Regions from separate parts of the Homo sapiens genome. Here all the other regions are linked to region 1. Evidence: promoter capture Hi-C in human tissues and cell types (Jung and others, 2019). All regions are on one chromosome and are shown on one strand. The core of a region is centred on a gene start or on the middle of the fragment in contact, and the rest is flanking DNA. Distances in the headings are between cores, read along the strand shown.

Evidence for each region. Contacts are between HindIII fragments. The study calls those that stand out against the background at their distance.
Region 2: a contact is called between a fragment that was not itself captured here and the fragment with the promoter of PXDC1 in region 1, in 1 of the 25 tissues and cell types used here (heart right ventricle).
Region 3: a fragment that was not itself captured here is called in contact with the fragment with the promoter of PXDC1 in region 1 in 1 of the 25 tissues and cell types used here (spleen).

Annotation. Positions count from the first base shown.
Region 1 is chr6:3,750,422-3,754,852 of GRCh38, forward strand. It overlaps PXDC1 (PX domain containing 1), which reads right to left and starts at 1,292. Exons shown (of 5, transcript NM_183373.4): 1 at 855-1,292. The coding sequence starts at 1,110. RefSeq lists silencers at 516-595, 1,346-1,585, 1,636-1,805. The HindIII fragment of the contact is 13,410 bases long and covers 1-4,431 here.
Region 2 is chr6:3,354,687-3,358,739 of GRCh38, forward strand. All of the region lies in intron 3 of SLC22A23 (solute carrier family 22 member 23), which reads right to left. Among named protein-coding and RNA genes, the nearest start is that of PSMG4, 98 kb to the left of the region's middle. RefSeq lists an enhancer at 1,457-2,347. The HindIII fragment of the contact is 4,734 bases long and covers 1-4,053 here.
Region 3 is chr6:4,169,605-4,173,965 of GRCh38, forward strand. LOC124901246 (a long non-coding RNA gene) reads left to right here. Exons shown (of 5, transcript XR_007059416.1): 3 at 1,551-1,696. Among named protein-coding and RNA genes, the nearest start is that of ECI2-DT, 36 kb to the left of the region's middle. RefSeq lists an enhancer at 1-193. The HindIII fragment of the contact is 6,100 bases long and covers 38-4,361 here.

The DNA of each region.
Region 1 (4,431 bases), core at 42-2,541:
CCCGGCCCTCCCAGGCGGCCCCTCTCCTCGGCCTGCCCCCTCCACCCCGCAATTCTTCCCGTCTCAATTCCAGTCCCTCTCTCTTGCGTCCTCCCGGCTTCCACCCCCTCAGCCTGGCCTCCAAAAGAAAGATCGGGCAGAGCGGTAGGAAAAGGGAAGCCACCGCGGTTTCTGAAAACAAGAATTCCCGCGAGCCAGGACGGTCACGAGGCCGGGGAGGAGGCGGCGCAGCTGATCAAACGCGAATGGGGACCAGCCCTGGCGGGGGTGCGGGGGGGCCCTGGCTGTCCGCGGCAGCCGCGGGCGGGGCGGCCGCTCCGAGGAGGGACGGAAGGGCTGCGTGGCACCTCGCGCTCGAAGACCAGGGGCGCGCCCTCCGCGGGGAGAACTCGGGGCGGCGGCCAGACCCGACGCGACCCCCGGCTCGGACCCTGCAGTTAACTGCTCCCAGACGCTTTCCCAGTGCGCCCGCCCGCCGGCCCTCGGGAGGTACCGGGCAGGGGGCTAGGGCCGGGCCGACCCTGTGAGCCGCTCAGCCCCGGGCGCCCCCGCCCTCCTCGGAAGTGACTCGTCCTCAGGGAGAGTCCGGCGCCCGCCCTGCCGGCCTCGGCCCCTTTCCCGCCCCATTTGGCTCCTCCGCCGGGGGCGCCCCCAGGCTGGGCAGGCTGGCTCCCCGTCCCCCTAACCCCGCCGCCCGGGCACCCCTCGTCTGCGGGCGCGGGGTCCAAGTGTCCCCTGTCCAGGGCGGGCAGAAAGGAGAAGTCGCAATCTCGGTTGAAGTCTCTTCCCCGCCTCCTTCGTGCACTTCAAGGCTGCCTCGGCCCCGCGCCCCTCCCGCGTCCCCGGCCCCGCACCTTGCCGCAGCGGCCCCTGCGCCAGTTCGGACCGGTCCTCGGGAAAGGCGTCGCGCAGGCGCTGCCACAGGCGGCCCAGGTCCGCCAGGCTGCGGTGCAGGTAGAGCACGCTGCGGTCCGACCACTCCGTGCGGATCTCGAAGAACTCCTCTTCGTCGCCGCGCCGGCTGACGATGAGCCTGCGGATGCCGTTCACCCAGCAGCCGCGCACGAACATGTTCACGAGCGACGTGCCCTCAAACACCGCCGAGGCCATGTCGCACGCATGCCCCCGCCAAGGGCTCCCCAGCCCCGCCGCCCGCCCGCCCGCAGGAGGCGCGCCCCGGCCGGGGTCGTCCCGGGTCTGTCCGTGGCCGGGGTCGTCCGGGGTCGGCCCGTCACTCCAAGGAGGCTGCGTATGGCCCGCGTTCGGGGCAGCGGGGCGGCGCGGCGGCGAGTGGCTCGGGCCGGCCGGGCGCGGCTTTATAAGGCGCTTCCCATCGCGGGCGGCGCGGTAGTCGACGTCGAGGTTAGGCCGCGTCCGCCTCCCGCCCGCCTCCCGCGGAACGGGCGCCGCGGGCCGCTCTGGAAAGGAAGAGGTCCGGCTGGCCGCGCCCCCGCCGCCTCCGCAGAGACCGCGCTGCCGCGGCCACGAGAACCCCCGGAGCCGGGAGCCGGGCCGAGTCCCAAGCGCTCGCCCCCGCCTCGCGCCCCCCGCGCCTCCTCCCTCGCGGCCCCGGAGCCGCAGGTCGGTGACTGGACCAGCCGGGAAGGGAGGCGGGGCGGGCCCTGCTTGCCAGGCGCTCGGCGCAGACTTTTTTCTCTTTCCGTTTCGCGATCCTCGGGACCTCCCAGGGCTAGGAGCTGCGCGCCCCACCCGGCCCGCGAGGGGATGGCAACTACCCGGGGTCCGGAGGCGGGGCTGCGAGTGTCGGGGCGGGGGGCGCGGGCCGGGTCGAGCACCGCCCCGACGAGGGCCCAGGCCAGTCCGGCCCGCCCCGGGTTCCCTCCGTGCCTCAGGTCCCCTCCGTGCCCCGCGTCCTCCCGCGCATTCCGGTCATGCCTCAGCCGCGCCAAGGCCTGGGACACGGCCGGACAGACCGCGGGGCAGCCCTCGGAGAAGTGGGAAGAGGGGAGAAAACAGTGGCGAAAAGAAGGTCTCCTGGGAAGGAGCGCCCTGGGAAGCTGGACGCGGTGGGTGCTCTTGAGGGGCCTCAGGAGTGGACTTGGGGAAACCGCCCGCCCTGAAAACTGACTCAGCGGCGCGTTACTGAGGCCGTTCCTAGTTGGAAGAGAATTAATAGCACTTGTTTGAGAATTACAAGTTAGTTCCAGAAATGAATCGAGTGACCTCACAGCCCGTAGGCAGGGGTGGGAGAGCCAGGGTGAGCCCCTCACCTCACCCCGCCCCCGCCCCGGCAGCGCTCTGGAAAGCCTCAAAGCCCAGCGCTGCGCGGAAATGTTAGAGGCCCAAGGCAGGTGGCCTGTCTGGACTCAGACCCGACCCAGATGTCCCCCCAGGTCCCTACCACTCAGTCCCACCTGCCTCGACTCAGTCCCGACCCAGATGACCACCCCCCCCCCGCCCCCACCACGACCAACTTTTATTCCGACTGCGCCAGTGACTTGCAGATAGCATAGCTTCAAATTTCCTCACCTGGTCTGGGGCGGTGAACAGGTCAAGATGGAGAGTGTCAAGAGAGACTTTTGCTTTGTCTATGATGTTTTTATATACACTTGCTAATTAAATGAACGCATATGTTTCCTGTGTAATTTTGTATAGGGGAATAGGGGCCGTGGGAACTGGAAGTAAACAGCCAGTGTGCCAGCAGCTCTTGACTCTAGGTGGTGGGAATAAGTGCCGTTGTAACCACAGTACCAGCCCAAACGGGGCTTACTCTGTTTGTAACAATGTTGAGTTACCTTGCAGGTATAACAGAGCCAAAAACTCTTAAGTCACAAAGCCCAGGCATGCACCATAGAAAAAGATTTGATCTCTAACAAACATCCAGAACCAACTATTCGTCTCCTTGGAACGAAGAAGACTGGGACATGACTGGAACCCGAACATTCGAACTCTCAGAAGGGAAGGGTCTCTTGGCCCAGAAGATAGGGGCTAAAATCCACCTCAACATACCGTACCATAAATGGCCAAATTTGAAGGCCTTCAAACAGATCCTGCCCAGCCAACATTTCTAAGTCCTTTCCTTTGCCCTCTGCTTCCTTAGAACTTGCCCCAGACCCCAAATCAGGGAGGAAGATTTGAACCTGCCTCCTGTCTCCTTGCTGGCTGGTCTTGCAATAAAGTCTTTCTTTTCTCAAAGGCAGTACCATGGTATTGCTTCCGTGTACATTGAGCAGTGAGCCTGAGGCAGGAAAATAGGGTCAGGAGGCAGGGAACATAAGGCCAATTCACACTTCGGCTGTAACAGGAAATATCCACTCCATAGGGCGTATGCTGTAAGTGACTTTGTAACTTTACTTCATCCTCTGCATTTACGTAGAGGGTAAGTGAAGTAAACAATGGAATCATCTAGGGGATATTTAAACTTCCAAAAATTCTGTAACGGGGCCTTTGAGCCCCTATGTTCGGGCCGCTCCCACACTGTGGAATGTAATTTCGTTTTCAATAAATCCCTTCATTCCTTCCTTGCTTTGTTTGTGCGTTTTGTCCAATTCTTTGTTCAAGATGCCAAGAACCTGGACATCCTCCACCGGTGACAAGCCCATTTGCTTAATAAGATTATTATTTTCTTCTCAGTATTTTTCTGTTACTTATTTTCTGAAAGTGCCAGGAAGAGGAGGGCAGGCAGGACCACCCCAAAACAGGCCACCTGTGGTATCATGGTGACCTCTAACCCCAGCCCCCAAGAATATGAAAGTGATGACGACTCTTATGAAGTGTTGGATTTAACTGAGTATGCAAGAAGACATCAGCGGTGGAATTGAGTGTTTGGCCCCAGTTGGAGACCTATGGTGTTACAGAGAAATACTCAGTAGCTACCCAGATTGGAATGTGTGGCGTGACAGGCTGGTATGCAGGATTTTTGCTCCCAAAAGTTGGGAAGGTTGCAGCAACTGCAGTGACTTCCAGATTGACTGGAAGAGAATTGAAAGAGACGTACATAAAGCAAAAAGACATACTAAGGCCCGGGCGTGGTGGCTCATGTCTGTAATCCCAGCACTTTGGGAGGCCGAGGCGTGTGGATCACCAAGTCAGGAGATCGAGACCATCCTGGCCAGCATGGTGAAACTCCATCTCTACTGAAACTACAAAAATTAGCTGGGCGTGGTGGTGGGCGCCTGTAATCCCAGCTACTTGGGAGGCTGAGGCAGGCGAATCGCTTGAACCCAGGAGGCAGAAGTTGCAATGAGCCGAGATCACGCCACTGCAATCCAGCCTGATGACAGAGCAAGACTGCATCTCAAAAAAGAAAAAAAAAAAAAAAGACAGACTAAGAAATGAGCAAATAAAGCAGCACCTGAAATCAACAATACAGTTGAAGAAGCAACTGACTTTATCAAACAGAACATTGTGATATCCACTGAATTTGTGGGAGGCTTTTTGCTAAGACTTGCATTTTAAAGACATGAATGG
Region 2 (4,053 bases), core at 1,109-3,608, 390 kb before region 1:
GAGGGGTTGCTCTAGATTTCAATGATCCACACCATCTCTAATTTCTTACTAATTAATCAAATAGTGAATGTCTAACAAATGGGGAAGGTACTATGCTGGGCCAAGTAGCCATGTAATGGGTTTCTGAATCTCATAATTCAACATCATCTTCTTCAACTGACACTTGTCTTTCCAGGTCAATTAAGCAGGCAGCCTCATTAGTTCATGGGTAGACAACACGCAGAACAGACAAAGCAGGACCTGAGGGCCAGAGGGTGACAGTATCTAACTCTGCCCCTAAAAGCACAAGGCATTTGGACAATTTGTGCTACACTCTTTCCTTTAAACAGGCAACAGGAAAAACAATAAAAGATATTCCTACTACCGAGTTTATAAAAACACAAACAAAAAAAACCAGCGCCTCTCCACATGGCAGTATTCAAATCCTTATCTTTGGGCTCCTACCCTCTATCTGCTTGGAAACAGCTCCCTGTCTTTGTGGCCGCCACCCTCCCCAGCTAAAAAAAAAAAAGTCTCCCTCCAAATACTATCCAGTAGCTCTTCAAATAAAATGGGATGAATAGAGAGGCCTTGATAACCACCAGTTTTCTCATCTTCAAACTGGAAATCAGAAATAATATCAGTAAAGACATCGACTTATTAGGTACAGTGAGAAGCCTTTGAACTTAAAAGACGGGAGGAAGACAAGCATGCTGCTCGTGGGTTCGTCACACCCTGTTCTATGCAACAAAGCAACCCTCCCTGGGTCGAGAAAAAAAATCTCCATGATGATCTCTTAGAAATATAAATGTATTTATAGATAGATATTTTCCCTCTTACCATGTGTATAAGAGAACAGGACGTTGCTGGGCAGAGGGAAGTTATTGTGTGAAGGCCAAGGTCATAACAAGGTTACCGTTCTCATGAGTCTGGGCTAGGTCTGGGCCCTCCCGCCCCGCTCCCTGTATCAGCCCCACTCCCAGGCTCCAGAGCTAGGCCACTTGATGCCTGGTCAGTCCTTTCTGTGCCTTCCCAAATTTACTCTCAATTTCTGGCTCATCTACTATTCTCATTTGCTATTTCTTAAGTTCTGGGCCACGGGAGCCCAAGGTCTCACTCAGCCCTGCACAAACCCCAGCTCTCAAAGCCGGCGTCGCTCTCACTCATTCCCTGTCTCCGCATCGACACGGAGGAGCCACTGGATATAACGCTGAGGTATTAAAAAAAGAAGGAAGTTCAGAAAAACAAACACAGTACGACAGCATTTGTAGGAAGTTTTTTTTTAAAGGCAAAACTGTACAACGCAGTGTTCTAGATGTGGGAAAACCTAACGAAACTCATGAGGATGAAAAACAGCAAACGGGGTGGGGAGACTTGTGGACAGGGGAGGGGGAGGAGGCGGGGGGCGCGGGAGGGGGAGGAGGCGGGAGGAGGCGGGGGTGGGTGGAGGCGGGAGGGTGGGACTTATTAATGAGGCTTGTTTCCGAGTCCGGGTAGCAGATACACGTGACATCAGAAACATCTCATAATCACGAAAGAAATCGAAGCACGCGTGCTCTCTCGGGAGGGCCCTCCTTCTGCGTGCCAGCCCTTGGGATCTGGACTTCTGGCTCCTGGAAACATTCAAAAGGAAACCGGTGGGCCATGGAACCGCTGACAGGATTGGATGGTAAAACAGTGTCTTAGATCCACCCTCGGTGCCTACAAGGGTAACAGGCCACACCCCCATCTCAGAGATGGCAGCGACCTCATCCAAGGGGCAGGGGAAGCCTCAGAGGAGTGATTTTAGCAGCCTCTCACTTCCTCATTTGCCTGTGAAAATAAAGCTGACCCTAAACTTACCGGCTCTGCACTACCCTCCCGCTGGCTGCTTCATTGTCCTGGGCAAATCTTCAGCCCCAGAGACAGTAGTGTTTATTTTAGAACCAAACCCGCTGGCCAGGACACCATCCACGTGAAACATTTCTTCCTAAGCCTGAAGCTTTGTTGTAACCCTGTTGTCTTCCTCCTTATTGGCTCAGCAGTGAGATGGGCTGGCTTGAACCTCCAGGTCTTGAAACCTGCCCAAGATACCAACAACCACCTGTAATAAGGTGCAGGATCCCGCTCAAGCCCTTCAGAGCATCTGTGGATGTGTTACCTCATATGCCCTCACCAAATCCTATAAATAAGAATATCAAGTAGTATCCCCATTTCCAAGATGGGAAATGGCCCCTTCAAAGGTCAGGTCACCGACACTGTGATGCAGGTGGTGTCTCTAGGAGAGGCGCAGGCTTCTAGATCCCAACTGTCGTGGTTTGTTCTAAAGGCTGCAGCAGCCTGGACCATAAAGACAATTTTAAAGCAGTAAACCTAGCAATACAGCCTGGAAGAGAAAACCAAAACAGAGCCAAAAAAAAAAAAAAAAAAAAAAAAAAAACCCAAAACAAGGCAGGCACTGTAATGAAATGCTCACATTTACTCCAGTGCCCACATCTGCATTCCCAGAGTCTCAGAAATCCAGCAGGATTCCAATGCCATGGAAATATGTATCATTGTTTTTGCCAAACAAACTCCCTTACCTTAAGCAAAGGTCAAGTACACTGTAAAACTCCCAGTGCAAACAACCAGCTGGAGGACTTATCCCAGCCTCTGTAAAGTCTTTGCTAATAATTATCCAGACAGCTTTCCTAATTTTTATTTTTAAATGGGGTTGTGGCTCAGCAATAGTGTAAGGATTAATCGCCTTATCAATTAGCATGAGGAAAGGACTGCAAATACAAAGTAGGTGTGTTCTTCCTGGCTTTCTACCTGCTCAATTAGGCTCAGGTCTTAAATGATTTCCAAAATTGGACTACATCTACTGTGTTTACTTCATTCTAAATATCAAAAAGATATCTAAAAGCTTATCATAAAAAAATTTAGAATTTCCCTTTTTGGTTACCAGCCTAAAAGCTCCTTAGTTTAGGGACTGTGTTCTTATTCAACAAGCCATGCCCAGCTCCTGGTTCACAGAACACACTGAATAATGACAAATAATGGAAAACAGAAGGCGGCTGTGTATAATGAATGCATTTCATTCACTTATTCAGCAAGGAGGATGAGGTAGCACCATGCCAGGGGAGATGCCGAGATGAAGCCACACCACCGGCCTCAAGGGGCTCACAGTCTGATGAAGAGACACGTGCCTATAAGACACAGATGGGGTTCTGTGCTACAGGAATGCAAAGAAAGGGACGAGGCCTGGGGAAGACTTCACCAAAGAAGCAGCATTTGAATCTTCCCTTAAGGGAAAAGGAAGTAGGACTGTCCTGCCATGTGGGTGAGGGGAAGGGAAGAGGCCTGGGAGGAGAGTTTTCAGAGAGGCAACCAGCTCTTGCAAAGGCGGCCAGTGCAGAAGAGGCTAGACAGGTTAGGTTCTCAGTATCAAAGTCCCCAGGATGGAGAGAAATTGGAACCTTTAAACACTGTTGGTAGGGATGCAAAAATGGTGCAGCCATTATGGAAAACAGTATGGCAGTTCCTCAAAAAACTAAAACTAGAACTGCCATATGATCCAGTGATTCTACTTCCAGGTACTTATCCAAAAGAATTGAAATTAGGATCTCAAAGCACTTGACGTGAGCGCTCCCACGTTCACTGCAGTGTTATCCACAACAGCCAAGATATGGAAACAACGCAGAGGTCCACTGATAGGTGAAGGGACACACGAAACACAGTGAAAAATACAATAGAATATGATTCCGCTTAAGAACGAATGAAATTCTGACACGTACGACACGTGGATGAACTTGGAGGAATTATGTTAAGTGAAATAAGCCAGTCACAGAAGGACAAATACTACATGATTCCACTTACATGAGGCATGTAAAAATAGGCAAATTCAGAAAATCAAAGAGTGGGCTGATGGTTGCCGGGGGTAGAGGGAGGGAGACATGGGGAGTTGCTCGTCAACTAGCATCAGCTTTCAGGCAGGCGAGATGAATAAGCTCTGGAACTCTGCTGCACACATTGTGTCTATAGTTCACGATACTGTGCTGTACACTGAAAAAACCTGTTAAGAGGGTGGGTCTCATGTTAGATGTTCTTACCACA
Region 3 (4,361 bases), core at 1,838-4,337, 420 kb after region 1:
GATGGTGGAGTTCATTCGTAAGTGCTCGTGGGCTATTGATGAGCGCTCCAGAGCTTTTACCCAAGAACACGGGTCATCCACATGATTCTGAATCCTGGTCATCCAGAAGGCTCTTGTTAACAGGCAGACAGGTATTTTCTTACAAACTTAAACATTTTTTGAGAAAGACATCCTGCAACTTCTCTAGGTAATCCTGTTCAGATAGAAATATTTGTTTTTTCTATAAAAATCTCTTTTTCTTTTATGTACAGCTATGCACCTATATGTAAATTTAATACATTTATACATTGTTTCTCAGTAGAAAGGAGGAGTAATTCAATTATTTTCATTATAAAAGCCACAGGCCCAGCCGTGCGTCTCATGCCTGTAATCCCCACGCTCTGGGAAGCCAAGGCAGGAGGATGGCTTGAGCCCAGGTGTTCAAGACCAGCCTGGCCAATATAGTGAGACCTTGTCTCTACAAAAACCTTAAATAATTAGCTTTGTCGGTGGTGTGTGCCTATACTCATAGAAATAAGGAGGCTGAGGCAGGAGGATTGCTTGAGCCTGAGGGGAAGAGGTTGCAGTGAGCCCAGAATGTGCCACTGTGCTACAGCCTGGGCAACAGTGAGACATTGTCTCATTAAATAAATAAATAAATAAAATAGCTATATAAAAGCCATAGAATTTTAGGGCAAAATGGAAATTTGAAATCATCTTCTTATTTTTTTTGTTTAGTGAGTGAGGCCATTGATACACAGATGAGTGGCAACTGTAGCCCATAAACTGAAAGTCAGGTCAAGAGCCAAGCTCTCTGGAGTCCTTGTCGAGAGCTCTTTCCACTGCATGGCATAGACACAGCACACACACCCCAACTTCCCACATTCCTGTCCATGGCAGACATCCACAATCAATCCCAGCACGGCCTCCATTCAATGTCGCTTCTTCTTTCAGAGATCCAGGCAGCCATTTACTTCAATGGGAATCCACACAAGCAGAGTGGCTGTGGTGAGCACAGGCTTTAGAGCCAGACAGACAGACAGCAATCCTGTATTATGTCATTAATCACTGGTGGATTGACAAAACTACTCAATCTTTCTGAGTCTCAGTTTCCTCATTTATGAAAAGGCGGATTGCAAACCTTGAAAGGCCAATCCTTCAAGATGAATCCTGACTGGGTGACTGGGCCTAAATTCAGTAAGAGCCAAGTGACCATTTGCTGACTAGAGGTCACATACGTGTTCTGAGTTCCATGAAAACCTGCATGTCTGCATAACTTTGAGACTTTCATAGTTGCCTGTTCCTATTTTTGTTGCCTGAACCAACCAATAGGCTGTGACCTACATTAACCAACCAGAGCTCAGTAAACGTCAAACAATCATAACTAAGCACATTTAAATGTTTCATGTGTATATGTGGACTTTAGTGAGAACCTGGGTTAGAACTTCCTCTATAAAAGTCAAATTTCCCATTGTTCTCTGGACTGCACCTTCACTTTACATGAAAGCTGTGTCTCTTTGGTATGAAAAATTTACTGGAATAAAGTCTCTTTCCTCTACATTCCTTTTCAGAGAAGTTTTGTTCACATTCTTTGGAATCAGAAGTGGAATTCAAGCAACACTGATTCTTCTCCTGATGCTGTCCTGAACCAACACATTGGGATCTTCAAGGGTCCTTTGAGTTCAGTTGTCTTCTCAGAGATGCCAGGAAGCCTCAGGTAAGCCCTCTTGAATTCAGACCTCCCATGCCTTTTTTTTTTTTTTTTTTTTGAGATGGAGTTTCACTCTTGTTGCCCAGGCTGGAGTGCAGTGGCATGATCTCGGCTCACTGCAACCTCTCCCTCCTAGGTTCCAGTGATTCTTGTGCCTCAGCCTCCAAAGTAGCTGGGATTACAGGCGTGTGCCACCATGCCCAGCTAACTTTTGTATTTTTAGTAGAGACGGGGTTTTGCCATGTTGGTCAGGCTGGTCTCAAACTCCTGACCTCAGGTGATCCACCTGCCTTGGCCTCCCAAAGTGCTGGGATTACAGGTGTGAACCACCGCGCACTTCTCCCATGCTTTTGATCTAAGCCTCAGAGCCTTTATTTAACCTCCTCAGCCAGTCCTCTTCATCTGGACCCTGAAAGAGACCTCCCCAGGAAGGGGGGCCTCTCCATCTGGTTTGCAGAGGTGGCCTCTTCATAAGGTTGCAGACCCAGCTGTTCCATCAGGTTTTGTGAGGACACTCTAAGGTGCGCTAGAGGGATGCCTTCATCAGCTTAGTGCAATGGGTAACCCGTGATTTCTGTGTTTCCCTGATGATCAGCTGCCCTCTGGCACTCCAACTGGCTTTATGAGCAAAAATTATGTTCCAGAGAGTTGTAATTGGCTAGGTCTCTGGACAAAAATTACCTGGGATGATCTAAAAACTTTGTTGGCCAAGATGGGGTTCTTTTGAAATTCTAAAACTTGCCTATCTGTGCTCACAATTAGAACAAAGAAAACACTGAACTTCCCAGAGATAATGAAAAGCCTTTTCAAGTTGGTACTTTTAGAGTTTCGAATAAAATCAAGAGCTACTATGCTTCCCTTAAAGAAAGCAATTCCAAATTAGGCAAACATCTTAATGAATTAAAAAGAGATTAGCACTTGGGAGACTGAAACTAAAGCTGCAGAAAAACCTAAGACCCTTCTTCTGCTAGCTCACCTCTCCTGTCACCTTGCCTGTCTGCTGCATCTTTTACAAGGCCTCTACTTTACCTTTCACTCCCTCCTTCCTCTTTCACGCTTTCTGAATTCCTCTTTTTCTCTTCTGACATTTCCACTTCCTCCAGACTCAGCCCCTTTTAAGGCCCAAATAATGGGGAGTAGAAATTGGCAAATTCCACGCTCCTTAGTCCATGTCAGAACTTTTGGCCCTAGTAAAACATTTCCCTAGTCCCTTGAAGACTAACTTCCTTGAATTTGAGTAACATTGTAGCCTAATCATTAGGGCTTATCAATCTTGATCAGCTGTTAGCTGCTGAATGGGAAAGACTCTGAGGACTTTAAGCAGACCGGTGCCCAAGGATTTGATAAGGCACAGAAACAGGATACCAAATTACTAAAAGCCATTCCCCTATTTTTTCCCCATCAGATAAACTGAAAAGCCATACACCGTTTACACAAAAAAAGGATGAGACCATTCTTGATTATTTTGATAAATTTGAACAGACTTTCCAACAAAATTTGGAGATCAAATATTTAAATGATGAAACATTCCATTTATTTAATTCCTTTTTTTTTTTTTTTTTTTTTTTGGGGCTGGTCTTTCTGAAGCTCTCAGTACCCTGGTAAAACAGCTTGACCTTAACTGGGCTGTAAAGTAACCTTATGAAATAGCCTCTTTGGCCAATTCATTATCCAAAACTTTAGAAAAGAATAAAGAATCTAGGGCTACTTGAGCATTAGACTGTCAAGAGAAGGCTGCTAAGTTAATGGTCCTTCAGTTACAACAATTAGCAAGGGACACCTCAAACATGCCCATTCTTCAAAACCAAAATTTAAAAAAAAAAGTGTGTTTTCAGAAGATGTTCCAGACATTTTAAAAAGGATTGCCCCAAATACAAATGAAGGCTGCAATTAAATCTTGATAAAGTCCCTGGCCCTCTACCCTCAAGCAGGACAAGGGATGATCCAGGGACATTCTGGGAATAGAGCTCTAGTTGACATTGAGCCACTGTCCTTAACCCTGATACTCTGGAGTGTCCCTGCCAGAGTTCTGAACTCATCTGGATGGTTGCAGGAGCCGACCAACCTGTGATGGTTCCTAAATCTCTATCCCTCCAACTGGGGGGTCCTGACTGACAATCATTGTTTTTCGTGTGTTCCATCGGTTCCCATACAATGCACCTCCTGGAAAGGAACTCCTTAGAGGCCTATCAAGCCCCTATTTCCTTCTCTTGAAGTGGGGGGCTAATGCTTGAGTTGGCAGCCCTGAGCTCAGCAGTACAGTTAGAAAATGGAGACTAAGTTAGAAATCACATAACTAAATTGGTCTCCAGGATATGATTTTTTTTTGGCCTTCAGCTGATTATTTTGAAAAGATTTCTAAACTTTGTCTAGGCTCATCTTTATTTTTCCTCATAAAATCCTGTGATAAATTCCTGTAATTTTAGGTTATCTTGGCACCCATTGTAATCCTCCTGTAACACACTCAAACTCCTTCTTGACAAAGCTTAGGTTCTCTCAGTTATTTGACATGTAAATTGCTACCCTGTTTTCTCTAAAACTCAGTAAGGGCTTTGGCCATGTGAGACATAAATTTTAACCTGTTCCATTTACAGAGACATAGTTAGAATCCAACCGTCCATTTAAACAAGTAAGTTATACCTGACACATGGCTAAAATTTTAAAATTAAAG